Regions from separate parts of the Homo sapiens genome. Here all the other regions are linked to region 1. Evidence: promoter capture Hi-C in 16 types of primary human blood cells and fetal thymus (Javierre and others, 2016). All regions are on one chromosome and are shown on one strand. Each heading gives the region's core, a stretch centred on a gene start or on the middle of the fragment in contact. The rest is flanking DNA. Distances are from core to core; before and after follow the strand shown. Region 1 holds the start of HEATR3 (HEAT repeat containing 3). Region 2 overlaps NKD1 (NKD inhibitor of Wnt signaling pathway 1). Region 3 has its middle 12 kb from the start of BRD7.

Region 1 (4,423 bases), core at 538-3,037:
CTCAGCCTCCAAGTAGCTGGGACTACAGGCACATGCCACCATGCCTGGCTAATTTTTGTATTTTTAGTAGAGATGGGGTTTCGCTATGTTGGCCAGGCTGGTCTTGAACTCCAGACCTCAGGTGATCTGCTCACCTTGGCTTCCCAAAGTGGTGGGATTACAGGTGTGAGCCACAGTGCCCAGCCCAAGATTGATCTTTGATAGGCCCAAATGCAACATGAGCTACACTTCTGTTACTCTCTAAAATTTGCCATAGTAATTAATTTCCCTTACTGGACAGTCAACTCTTTGACAGTAGGGTTACCATGGAATGGAAATTTTCTCCAGTAGAATGTTGACCTGAGCCTGGGCGTGGTGGCTCATACCTGTAATACTAGCACTTTGGGAGGCTGAGGCAGGCAGATCATTTGAGATCAAGAGTTCGAGACCAGCCTGACCAACGTGGTAAAACCCCGTCTCTCCTAAAAATAATAATAAAAAAAAAATAGCTGGGCATGGTGGCACATACCTGTAATCTCAGCTACTTAGGAGGCTAAGGCAGGAGGACTGCTTGAACTCCAAGGCAGAGGTTACAATAAGCCGAGATCGCACCATTGCACTCCAGCCTGGACAGCAGAGTGAGACTCTGTTTCAAAAACAAAAAGAAAAAAAGAAAATTGACCCAAAGCTATGCATATATTGAGTACTCACTCGTTACATGTCTAATTATAAAGACCACCTAAGATTCTCCTGTACTTTTCCCTCTGCTTAGTATTTACCACAATTATAACCAAAGTTATTCATATAATTATATATTCAACAGATCTCTCCCTGGACTGTAAATTCCATAAGGACAGGGAGAGAGGACAGGAACCAAACTGTCTTGATTACTGCTTTATTCCAATGCCCAGCACTGTACCTAGTACTCAACAAATATCTGCAAAAGAATCTCTTTGTTAAATACGTTTCCAAACATTTACATAGTGCTTAGTATCTGCCAGTCTCTGTTCTTAGCACCTTAAACATATGAACACATTTAGTCTTCGTAACAACTCCATGAGGTATATACTATCGATGTCCCCACTTCACTGATGAGGAAACTAAGGCAGGGAGATTAGGTTCTTAAGCGATTCTGTTTTATCAAATATAGACACACATTCGTTCCAAAACATTAACTAGTCTCTGTCTACGACAGGAGCTATGGGAGGTGCTGGGGACACAAAATAAAATCGTGGTTAATGCTTTTTGAGTACCTGCTATATATCAGGCTTGGTGTTAGGCACTTTACAGAACTTTATGAACTTTACAGAACTTACAATAACCTTGCAAGTTAGGTATTCTTAATCACATTTGATTATTTGTAGCCGGTGTTACTAACTTATTGGTTGCTTGATTGATTGATTGAGACAGGGTCTCGCTCTGTCGCCCAGGATGGAGTGCAGTAGCAGGATCACGGCTCACCTCAGCCTCAAACTCCTGGGGTCAAGTGATCCTCCGGCTTCAACGTCCCAAGTAGCTGGGACTACACACACACGCCACTATGCCCAGATAATTTTTAATTTTTTTGGTGGGGAGGACAGGGAGTGGAGTGTTTTCCTATGTTGCCCAAGATGGTCTCGAACTTCTGGCCTCAAGTGATCCTCTCGCCCGGGTCGGCGTTACTATTCTAGTCCAACCTCCTACTTACCCGGTAAACCCACAAGGCTCCGCCCCTTTGCCGAAGCTGGCCCCGCCTATGCCCTCTTCCACGCCTGCGCGCTCCGTGCGCCAGTTCCCCCCACCCCGCCCCGCCCCAACCCCGACCCGGCAGACGACGCGCCGTGCGCCTGCGCACGGCTTGCCCATGTGTGCTGCAGCCGTCAGCCGGCCCAGCTGAGCAGCAGCAACGGACCTTGTTAACGGCGCGGCAGCCTCCACCGCCTGCTGTTGCCCTCCTCTCTCGGTGGTCTGTCCGCCCAGCGCACGTCACCATGGGCAAGAGCCGGACGAAGCGCTTCAAGCGACCTCAGTTCTCCCCTACGGGCGACTGTCAGGCCGAGGCGGCTGCGGCGGCGAATGGGACCGGAGGCGAGGAGGACGACGGGCCGGCGGCGGAGCTGCTGGAAAAGGTGAGGCGAGGGCTCCGTCGGGCCGGGAGGCGAGACGAGGTTGCCCCGCGCGCGTGCGCATTGCGCGCCTTCTGACCCTTTTCGCTCTCATCCGCAGCTCCAGCACCCGAGCGCCGAGGTCCGCGAGTGCGCCTGCGCAGGGCTGGCCCGGCTGGTGCAGCAGCGGCCGGCACTCCCGGGCCTGGCGCGACGAGACGCCGTGCGCCGCCTCGGGCCGCTGCTGCTAGACCCCAGCCTGGCCGTCAGGGAGACTGCAGCCGGCGCGCTGAGGTGAGCCAGGAAGGGTGCGGGGCGGTGCCCACCGCTGGCCTCCCCCGCGTCTGGGCTGCGGGCGGTCGCAGCGGTCACCCAGCGCCTTCTGTGTGCCATCAGGCACTGGCCCGGTCTCCCGTTTGCAGAGATTTGAAGCCAGTCTCCAGGCTCCGGAGAAGCCCAGTATCCCCGCATCTCATCTGTCCACCTGGCTGCTTCACCTGCAGCGTCCACCTGCTCAGGCGTCCTGCCCTCACGCCTTGCGCACGTTTTACACTCTCCAAAAGCCCTCCTTAGGGTCCCTTGCTTGGATGAACTCTTCAGTTCATGTGTCAGGAATCGTTCTAGATGCAGGGGACTTTGAGCAGCCAAGACTTTTGAGCGAGATCTGTTGACAGCCAAGATCCCTGTCTTGGCACAAGTCATGTTGATGGGGAGACAGACAGGAAGCTAGTAAAAAGGTAAAACATAATATTAAATAGTGAGAATTGCTGTGGGAAAACGAGATGATGATGAGTTGGGGGTGGGAAGTTTGAATTGGGTGCTCTTGGGCCGGGCGCGGTGGCACACACCTGTAATCCCATTGCTTTGGGAGGCCAAGGAAGGAGGATCACTGGAGGCCAGGAGTCCAAGGCCAACCTGGGCAACATAGCAAGACCCCGTCTGTAGAAAAATTATAAACAATTAGTCGGGCATGGTGGTGGGTGCCTGTAATCCCAGCTACTCAGGAGGCTGAGGTAGGAGAATCGCTTGAGCCCAGGAGTTCGAGGCTGCAGTGAGCTATGATCACACCACTGCACTCCAGCCTGGGTGATAGAACAAGACCCTGTCTCAAAAAAAAAAAAAGGTGCTCTTTAGATGACTTGTGAAAGGAGATGTGCAGGGTGAGAGAGCCAGGAGGCATGGGAAAATAGGGGGAAGAATATTCCCCACAAAGGGAGCAGCAACAGCAAAGAAGCGAAGCAGCAGGCAGCTTGACGTGGTTAAACAGCAGAGAGGGTAGGTAGGTGGCTGAGAAGAGCAGGGGTGGGTAATTACAGGAAGTGAGGCTGGAGAGAGGGATGAGCTGTACGATGGTGTAGGGCTGAGGACTTAACTCTAAGCAGGGAAGTGACATGCTGCAACACATTTTGTGAAGACCACTCTGCTGGTTGTGCAGAGAATGGACTGCAGAGGGGGCAAGAGTAGAGGTTAGTATTTGTAGTTCTTACAGCTCTGTCTCTGTTTGTTATTTATATTTCATTCACTGATATAGCAAATATGTATAAAGTGCCAACTGTGTGCCAGACACTGAGCTAAGCTGTGGGCATGGGGTAATGAGCAAGGCAATGTCTCTCCTTAAGAAATCTTAAAGTGTATTGAGGGAGACAAGCATTAACCAAACAGTTACATAAGTGTATGATTACAATGAATGGTAATGACAAAGGGTGCTAAAAGAGGGTACAAACAAAGGGTTCAGGGAAGAAGACTGAGTGAGTGGTGCTTGAGGTGAGCTCGGAGGAATGAATGGGCATTCACCAGTTGATGGAGGGGGGATAGACGCTCTTCTTCCTTTAGGGAGGAAACAGCATGTGGAAAGCCCTTCCCTTCCTCCCACAGCATACAGAGGCTGGGGGATCCTGGCACATTGTGAGGGCATCTTCTGACTATCTCCATATCCTTAGGGACTAGCACAGTGCTGTGTACTCGGAAGTCATGTCTTTCCAATTAAAATTTACCCAGGGCTGCTTTAGGGGGTGTCATTCTCAGTAGCCCCACCTTGCTGCCCTTGCAGTTCGCTTTTTATTTTATTTTATTTTTTTAGAAACGGGGTCTCCCGCTGTTCCTAGGCTGGTCTTGAATTCCTGAGCTCAATTGATCCTCCCACCTAGGCCTCTCAAAGTGCTGGGATTACAGGTGTGAGCCACAGCACCTAGCCCTGCCCTTGTAGTCTTGATTCCAAGAAAAGGTCCCTTCATACATGATGTGATTTATTCACATGAGAAAAGTCTCCCCTCTCCCCTTCTTGTAGCCATGCACCTGTATACTGTTTCAGACCTCAGAACTAAGTTATATGACAGCGTCGTCTGTTTATATCTTGTAGA
Region 2 (4,423 bases), core at 1,098-3,597, 490 kb after region 1:
TTCTTGGCCCTCCGAAATTCTTTGTCATGATAGATTATTCTTTTAAATGTGACCGCATTTGATAGGCTAATATTTTACTTTGGATCTTTGCATGAAGTACTCAGTGCAAGTTAACTGTTAAAGTTATAAAACCATAAGGGAAGCACAGGGCTGTGGAGGTTGGGGAGGGTTTTTTTGAAGGAAGTGGGCATGTGAGTAGGGATTTGAAGAATGGTAAGACTGAGATCAGGGGTTAGAAACTTAAGGACCTACAGGGGCCAGAGAGGTCATATGAATGAATGCCACAGGCTCAGTGGGAGACATCTGAGAGGGGTGGGAACCGGGGTGCCCCCGGGGAACACACACCCTGCCTCAAGGGGGCAGTGCCACTCAACCCCAGCCAATCACTGCCATGTGGGAATATGGCCCTGGTGTTGCCACACGGGCTGATCATTAAGAAAATCCAGCTGTCTGAATTTTTATGTGAAACTTTTCCAATTTAAAAAATTATTGTTAACCAATTAAAATTTTTAGAAAACACCTTCTTTGGGTGACTCAGACGACTGGATTTGGCCTGTTAGTACACTGGCTTGTGTTTGCTGATTTAGACCTTTAAGATTCTGATGGTGGTGGTGGTAGAGAAGCAGTATGTTAGTGATAAAAGGACACACGAGTGAGTATCATATGGACTCAACATTGTGCCTAATACTTTCCATGCATTCTCTTGTAGAATCCTCACAACTGCCTTAGGTATTATTCCGCTATCGCATAGATGAGGAGGCAGGCCCAGCAAATTAGAGTCACTAGCCCAGCCAGGGAGAGCTGGATGCAGGCTGCATCCAAGGCAGAGAGTGCAGGCCAAGCAAAGGCTCATTGCCAGGAAGCTGTGCACAGTGTATTTCAGTCTGGTGGGAGAGCAATGTGGGAGGCACAGGAAGGGTAAGTAAAGATGTGGGCTGGGATGGGAGGCCGAGGTTGGTGGAGGCCGAGGTTGGTGGATCACCTGAGGTCAGGAGTTTGAGACCAGCCTGGCCAACATGACGAAACCCCGTCTCTGCTAAAAATACAAAAAAAAAAAAAAAAAGAAAGAAAAGAAAGAAAAAAAAAATAGCCGGGCATGGTGGCAGGCACCTGTAATCCCAGCTACTTGGGAGGCTGAAGCAGGAGAATTCCTTGAACCCGGGAGATGGAGGTTGCAGTGAGCCAAGATCGTGCCATTGCACTCCAGCCTGGGTGACAAGAGTGAAACTCTGTCTCAAACAAACAAACAAACAAACAAACAACAAAACAAAGATGTGGGCTGGGAGACTTTATGCTGAAGACCAGCATGTGCCCATAGAAGGTGCCAGAGGTGTGCTTAGAACTTGCAGAATCAGACTTCCTGGGTCTGAGTCCCAGCTGCACTTCTCCCCAGCTCGGTGGCCTTGGGCCAAGTGATGGCTCATCTCTGATTCTCAGTTTTCACATCTGTGGAATGGGTAGAGTAATGGTTCCTACCTCATTGGGTTGTTTTAAGGGTAGAAATGGGTTCATTTCAGCAAGTTAAAGAATAAAGGAGATGTCACCCCTTCTTTTGCAGCTTGCCAGTGTTGTTTGCTAGTGATCACCTGGATGTGTGCTCAGTGTGGTACCAGTGTGCTAAGTGCAGTGAAGGAAAAGGATGGGGAAGGAGAATAACGGAGGATTCTACTTCAGATTAGGGAGTGATGCGTAAGTCGTTAAGACCCAAAGAATAAATAGGAAATAGCTAGGTGGGGAAAGGTTTATTAAAAATATTCCAGGCAGAAGGCACGGGATGTGCAAAGGGCAAGAGGCATGCAGGGTTGGTGCACAGAGAAAGTGTTCAGCCTCCTTCTCGGTGTCTGACTTGGAACCACATTCCAGTCTCTGAGGTGTTAGAGCAGAACTATGTGGTGCAGCAGCAGGGAGTGGGCAGTGCCTGCTGGGCTGGGTGGTACCACTGTATGTTGCATCCCGTCATGAGGCCTTGTCTCCTTGCCGCAAGTCTTCCATGAAGTGTTACTGGTGTCTGTGGACTCCAGCTTTCTGGTCAGGTTGGAAGAGGTAGGGAGGAGAACCTCTCAGTCACAAGAAATAGTGTCACCCTGGAGCGGATTGGCTGGCCTGCTGGGCTGCCCAAGCCTTCTGGCCTTGAGCATAGAGCTGGGGTCCTGAGGAGGGGAGAGGCAGAGCATAAAAGGACCCTGTTAGCAGGATGGGGCTGTCTTCCCTCAGGCCACAGCCTCCCTAATGGGCTCAGGCCGGAGGATGTTTTTCTAACTTCAGAAGGCTGCGTGGGCTGGTGGGCCCCTCACTCAGAGGCCTCGGCTTGCGGTGGCTCCAGTGAGTGGGTTTGGGGGTGCTGGTGTGTGGTGCCATGCCCATTCCATGCCTGGTTTCCAGAGGGAGCCTTGTTCCAGGACAGTTTTTGACCCTGACTTTGTTGTTTTACCCTTCTTTCCCCCTTCAAAGGCAAAAAGATGATTGAAGAGAACTACTATAATCCAGGAACAAAGTTGCCTTTTCAGCGGGCACTGGGGACTTTCTCTGCTTCCTCCCTGCCCTGGAAAGTCCAAAGGCACCCACTGCCTCAGCTGGTCCTGGGCACGTGCCTGCTTTCTCAGTGGCTGCAGGCTCAGTGTGCCCGCGAGCTGCCCACTGTGTGCATAGCCCCGTGCTGAGTCTGGGAGCTGCAGCCCGAGGAGGAGGTGGTAACAGCGTAGCTGCTGCTTGCTGCGTGTCTGCTGTGTGCCAGGCTCTGGGCCAAGCACTGTTCATAGTGCTGGATTCTCAGAGCACTGTTATGAGGCCGCTGTTATTATTATGCCCATCTTACCCATAGGGAAACTGAGGCTTTAAAGAAGTCAACCATATTGCCCAAGGTCACTTAACTTGGAAGTGGAATCTTGCTTCAGCAAGATTCAAATTCAGATCACTCAGTGTGATTTTAGAGCCATCTTAAATCAGTTTAGGCGAGTTTTTTTTTTTTTTTCAACTGTATGTCTCAGCCCCATTCATGGTTCATGACATCAATTTAGTGACCAAAATGAAATAGAGTAAAAATATGAGAAAACATTATATATAGTAAGAGTAAATATTGTTTTGTGTAATTTTTTGTTCTAGTTAAAAAAAATGTATACACACACTTTACACACACCTATACCCAAACCCATCTATCTATCTATCTATCTATCTATCTATCTATCTATCTACAGCAGAGGCATATTGTAAAATATAATTCTTACTATAGGTCATAATCAGAGTATTAGAAAAACGCTGGTGTGGGTCACTGGTGCAGGCCCTGAGCCTGAATGCCTGGTTTTGAGCCCTGGCTCTACTTCTCACTAGCAGTGTGACCTAGGGCAACTTTCCTGACCTCTCTGTGCTTTCTGAGCTGTTTGGTTTGTTGACTTTTGGGCCTGGGTCAGTGCTCCCAGGGATGCTGTGGGTGCTTGCTGCTGGCTCACTCCCTTTGCTTAGGGAATGAAGAGGATGAGCAGTCCCATGGAGGGGGGGCCCATGGCTTCTCCCCTGAGAAGCCAACAGCAGCAGCTTCATCCCAGGAGAAACACAGACATGGCTCAGTCATCAGGGGTTGGACACAATGCTGCGCTGGGAACCCTGAGCCTGGGGGTGCCTCCAGCTTAGCTATGAGGTATCTATTATGACCTCTCCTGCCTTCTGCTTCCTCCTCTCAAAAATGCATTAAAGGAAAGGAGAAGGCTTTGTTTCTACTGCTGTAAAAAAAAAAAAAAAGTCCAAAGATTAGTGACTTGATCACTTTGTGACTTGCTTAAGAGTATGCACTTTGGACCAAGCCTGGGAGGGTCAACTTGTCTGTGGCTCCATGTAGCACAGTTAGGGTGGCTCTAACAGCAAGGGTCTGACTGCAGCAGCTCCAAATAAGTGACATGTCTGGGGCTTCAGTTCTCTTCTAGTTGGCCTCACCTCATGAGTAGCTTGGGCTTCCTCACAGTATGGCAGTCTCAGGGTAATCAGATTTACATGGTGGCTGTCTTTCCCAAGAGTATAGAAGCAAAAACGGCCAGGACTCTTTAAGGTTTAGGCCTGGAATTAGCAACAACACATTCTCTTCATTAAAGCAAGTCACAGGTCCAGCCTAGATTTAGGGGAAGGAACTACACAGGGGCATAAATACTGGGAAGTGGGATTCACTGGGGGCCATCCACACAGTCTACCGGAGAGTAGGTGGTCTCTTGCAGAGAGAGTGGAGTTATAGAAAAGGACTGAGACGTGTCCCTTGGGTTTAGGATCCTGGCGGTCACAGTTGGGTCTGGCAGGAACTGTCTTGGTGAAGTGACAGCAGAGGTGAGACTTGGGTGGCTCACGAAGGGACTAAGAAATATGTGCAGGGGAGCAGAAGCACATACTTACAAGAACATTCATGGCTGCATTTGGAAGAATGAAAAGTTTTTGACAACTC
Region 3 (4,423 bases), core at 1,439-3,938, 320 kb after region 1:
GAAGGGGTGGGATGTGGGTGGAGGGTGGTCAAGGTGGTGGCAGAATTCAGGGACAAGTGAATCCTAGACCATGGGTCTTCTAACCCAGGAGCTTGGGAGGGAGACGAGTGCCACCTAAACCACATGGCCTAAGTAAGTTGGGATCCCTTAGAAAAATTAGGGTACTGTGACCAGAGGATTGGAGAATGGATGCTGTACCCAAAGTAACCAAGCATTAAACAAAACAAAACAAAACAAAACAAAACAAAACAAACACCTGTTTCTAAACTCAGTTTCTCTACCTGCCTTGAGAATGAGCAGGTTGTGAGGGCCCAATGAGAGGAGGAAGTAAATGATGAGCACTGTTACCTGTTACTTGGAGCCCTATTACTGAGGGGAGCCCCGAGCCCAATTACTCAGAGCCCTGTTACTTGGCGCTGACAGGAGCCCCGAGGCACCTTGCTGCTAACAAACATAACACGCTTCACAAAATGTTCACCCTGTCCCCCATGAGACTGGTCACTGATAAAGAACTGGTAGAAAGGTTCTTTCCTACAAATCCAATTCCAGTCGGCTTGGCTGATGCTTGGCCTGCTCCTCAGAGAGGCAAACATGCCCATTTGCTGGGGAAATGCAACCCAGGGGCGTTTTCTCCTCCTCTCTCTACTGTGATCTTGCCTTTCAGAGCCAGTAGGGGTTCAGACTTGGAGTTGCTGACATTGTCAGCCCCGGAAGAAAAGTTGTGAGGCTCAGCCAGATCTATTTATGCCAGATTTTACAACATCATTGAATTATTTGCACTCAGAACTGCTGATGTTCTGTTGTTATTGTTGTTTAAGTCTACACATAGGCATTTTGGAAGGCACCAATGAATGGGCATCTCTTTATAGTTTCTGAGGCAGAAAAAGGAAAAACTTTTTTCTCCCCTTTATTTAGGAGAAAAGTGAGTGGAGTGGGGAATACAGCCTTCTCCTTCCTGCCTGCCTGTCCCTCTTTCACCTGGGGTAAAATCTGCTTCTGAAAGCCTCCCCAGAGCCCGCTATGAGGAAGGAATAGCCCCTCATCTGTGCACCCTGGCTATTGACTCAGCAAGAGCTGCCATATTTCCTGGCTTCCACTCTGCTCCGCCATAAATCCACTTTCCCCACCACAGCCAGAGTGACTTTGAAATACACAGATTTCCGGGCCAGGGGCAGTGGCTCACACCTGTAATCCCAGCACTTTGGGAGGCCAAGGTAGGAGGACCAGGAGTTTGAGACCAACCTGGGCAAGATAGTGAGAACCCCATCTCTGTTAAAAACAAAACACATGGATTTTTCTGTGGGTGGTGGTACGTTACAAAAATAAAAACAAAAACATAGATTATAGATTGGATTAGGCCACATCATCGTCCTGTTCATAACCCTTTGGGGGGTCTCCCATCTCAGATCAAGCCCAAGCTTTTTTCCTAAGCCTACAAGGCTCAGTGTAACCTGACCTCGTGCTCTTCTCTGACCCCGATTTCTGCCACTGCCTACTTCTACCCACTAATCTCCAGACATAATTTGCCTAATCTTAGTCCCTTGAACATGCCACACTCTTCCTCCATGCAGGCCTTTCACACATGCTATTCCCTTATTCTGGAATGCTGTTCCCACACTCTTCATATGGCTGGCCTCTTCTCATCTCTCACCACCTCAGAAAGGCAACCCTAAACTGCTCCAACAAGTCCCCTTTTAGTTTCTGTCTTTATTTATATATATATTTTGAGATGGAGTTTTGCTTTTGTCGCCCAGGCTGGAGTTCAGGTGCGAGATCTCAGATCACTGCAACCTCCACTTCCTAGTTTCAAGGGATTCTCCTGCCCCAGCCTCCCGAGTAGCTGAGATTACAGGTGCTCACCACCACACCCAGCTAATTTTTTGTGTTTTTGGTAGAGACGGGGTTTCGCCATGTTGGCCAGGCTGGTCTTGAACTCCTGACCTCAGGTTATCCACCTGCCTCGGCCTCCCAGAGTGCTGGGATTACAGGCGTGAGCCACTGCACCCGGACCTCTTTTAGTTTCTCTTATAGCACCCTGTGGTTTTTCTGTTTCTGATAAAACACATCACATTTGCAATTCCGTATTTATTTGTCTATTGTCTGCCTTCCCATAAGACTGAGAACTTCCTGAGGGCAAGAGCTGAGTCTATTCTGTTTTGTTCACTGGCACTTGACATGTACCTAATACATTTTTGTTGCCCAAATGATTAGACGGTTGAAGTCCTCTCTTGTGGAAGGCAGGACTTCCTTCTGTGTTCTTCCTTCTGGCAGTGACTTATTTCTCCTCCCAGGAGGGGATTGGAGAGAGGAGGTTTTGTCATGCTTCCCTCTGTCCCCCTCAAGGCACTCAACATGGTATTTGGCCCACCATGGGAGCCCAGTGGAGGATGATGAATGAATTCACATTAAATATGTTCTTCCTCTTCCCCCCAACTGCACAGCCAGCTACTCCTGGGAGAGGCATAAATAGTGACCTACAGGCCGGCTGCAGTGGCCCACACCTGTAATCCCAGCACTTTGGGAGGCCTAGGTTGGTGGATTACTGGAGGCCGGGAGTTGGAGATCAGCCTGGCCAACACGGGGAAACTCTGTCTCTACTAAAAATACAAAAATTAGCCAGGCATGGTGGCACATGCCTGTAATCCCAGCTTCTTGGGACGCTGAGGCACAAGAATTGCTTGAACCCTGGAGGTGGGGGTCTCAGTGAGCCAAGATTGTGCCACTGTGCTCCAGTCTGGGCAACAGAGCAAGACCGCCTCAAACAAAAATAAGTGACCTACACCATGAGACTTTGGAGTTGTCAAGCCTTTGCAAAATCTCAAACTCTCTCTTCTACTGATGTGAGTACTGTAGTGCCTGAGAGTCCATTACAACAGAGCAAGGGCAAGGTCTAAGAATCATCTTCCAAGGTCAGCACACCTGGAAGGGGTATTGCCTGAACTGAGCCTGGTAATTTCCTCCTGGGATGGGGAGGGTGGGGAGGGTGGAGAACACAGTGACAGCGCCCCCTGCCCCAGGCTTTCACTTCACCAGATATCCATTAAGCACAGTGATTGTTAGGGTCCACAGGGACTTCAGATACAAACAAGACACAGCCCCTAACCTCAGGAGGCTCAGGGTTTGGTGGAATAGACGCGTGACTTGCCCCCTTTCTGCCGTATGACACTTTGGGCTCGTTACTTGAAAGCCTTGGCTTCCTCATCTGTAAAATGGGGTTATAAATGTACCAATCTCATTGGTGATAATTCATTGAGTTGATGCATAAAAATGCTTAGGACAGGGCCAGGCTCAATAAGGGTGAGTAGTCAGTGTTATTATCTGCCATGCCTCAGGCAAGGTACAGAGTTTCCCCAAGGCTACTTGACCTCTTCCTGTTTACCCTGCCTCCTGGCCAGCTGCCCTCTGGTGGTAACTGTGCAGAGTGGTCGCCTGCCTCTGGCACCTGTCTGATCTGCCCCGGTCCTGCTGACCCCTCCTGTGGGCCTTTTGGTTGTCTGGACTCTTGGTATGTCCCAGGCCTTCCCTTTTTGCTAGGTTTCCAAGGCTGCTCTTCTGCGTCAGCAGGTTTCTCAGGCTTTTCAGACCCAAGTGACCATCTTGGGACATAGGCAGAGAGAAGCCTTGATGTTACTAGTTATTTCTGCCCATTGGGCACCAAATAAACACTTTCTCTAGCAACAGCCTCTTGACTTCCACTTAGAGAGCCTCCTCTCCCCACATGACCTAAGCCTGCCAATGAGAGTGTCACAGCCGCGAGGGCCAGTGAGGATTGGTTCAGGGGTGAGCATGTGACCCAGGCCTGCCAGTGAGAGTATCACAGCTGCCAGGACCAATGATTGGTTCAGAGGTGGGCCTGTGACTGGAATCTGGTTAATGAGAATATCATAGCCCCTGGCTTGGTGATTGGTACAGAGGTGGGCAGGGACTGAGGCTTGGCTTTGGTGGGACCTTTCCATGAAAAGCTTGCTGAGCCAGTGGTATGTCAGTCTGGTGCTTTTGGGGCTTGAGAGGAGGCCCTGCCTGAGAATAAAGCTAATGGTGGAGAAAGCAGAGCCAAGAGCTAGTGGCCTGGTGACAGTAATTGAGTCTCTGGATCCAGCTGAGCCTGAAGTTCATCAACCTCTTACACTTTTCAATCCAAGGGTTGAATAAATTCCCCCTCTGAGTTTTGTGTACTTTGAACTGGATTTCTAGCCCTTGCAACTGAAAGAACATAGGCTGACTTGTGTGTGCATGGACACACACACACACACACACACACACACACACACACACACACACTTCATTCAGTGCCTACTGAGGAGTCCCTCTGCTTAGGGAACTGAGCACTGCCTGTTCCCAGAGCATACAGAGGTGACCAGGACAGTTCCTGACCTCAGGAGTCCCAGGAATGGGGCAACAAGTCCGACTTCTTGCTCAGATA

The links. Contacts are between HindIII fragments. The CHiCAGO score rates a contact against its expected background, and 5 or more counts as called.
Region 2: a contact is called between a fragment that was not itself captured here and the fragment with the promoter of HEATR3 in region 1, in 4 of 17 cell types (total CD4 T cells, activated CD4 T cells, naive CD4 T cells and 1 more). The highest score is 6.3, in total CD4 T cells.
Region 3: a fragment that was not itself captured here is called in contact with the fragment with the promoter of HEATR3 in region 1 in 1 of 17 cell types (neutrophils); the score reaches 6.4 in neutrophils.

Annotation. Positions count from the first base shown.
Region 1 is chr16:50,064,183-50,068,605 of GRCh38, forward strand. It overlaps HEATR3 (HEAT repeat containing 3), which reads left to right and starts at 1,788. Exons shown (of 15, transcript NM_182922.4): 1 at 1,788-2,087; 2 at 2,185-2,357. The coding sequence starts at 1,950. It overlaps HEATR3-AS1 (HEATR3 antisense RNA 1), which reads right to left and starts at 2,142. Exons shown (of 3, transcript NR_186390.1): 1 at 1,871-2,142; 2 at 509-625. RefSeq lists an enhancer at 1,596-1,890 and silencers at 1,741-1,790, 2,121-2,170, 2,251-2,510. The HindIII fragment of the contact is 22,013 bases long and covers 1-4,423 here.
Region 2 is chr16:50,557,674-50,562,096 of GRCh38, forward strand. The region is part of intron 3 of NKD1 (NKD inhibitor of Wnt signaling pathway 1); the gene reads left to right. Among named protein-coding and RNA genes, the nearest start is that of NKD1, 11 kb to the left of the region's middle. The HindIII fragment of the contact is 5,014 bases long and covers 1-4,423 here.
Region 3 is chr16:50,378,861-50,383,283 of GRCh38, forward strand. No RefSeq gene overlaps it. Among named protein-coding and RNA genes, the nearest start is that of BRD7, 12 kb to the left of the region's middle. The HindIII fragment of the contact is 2,544 bases long and covers 1,417-3,960 here.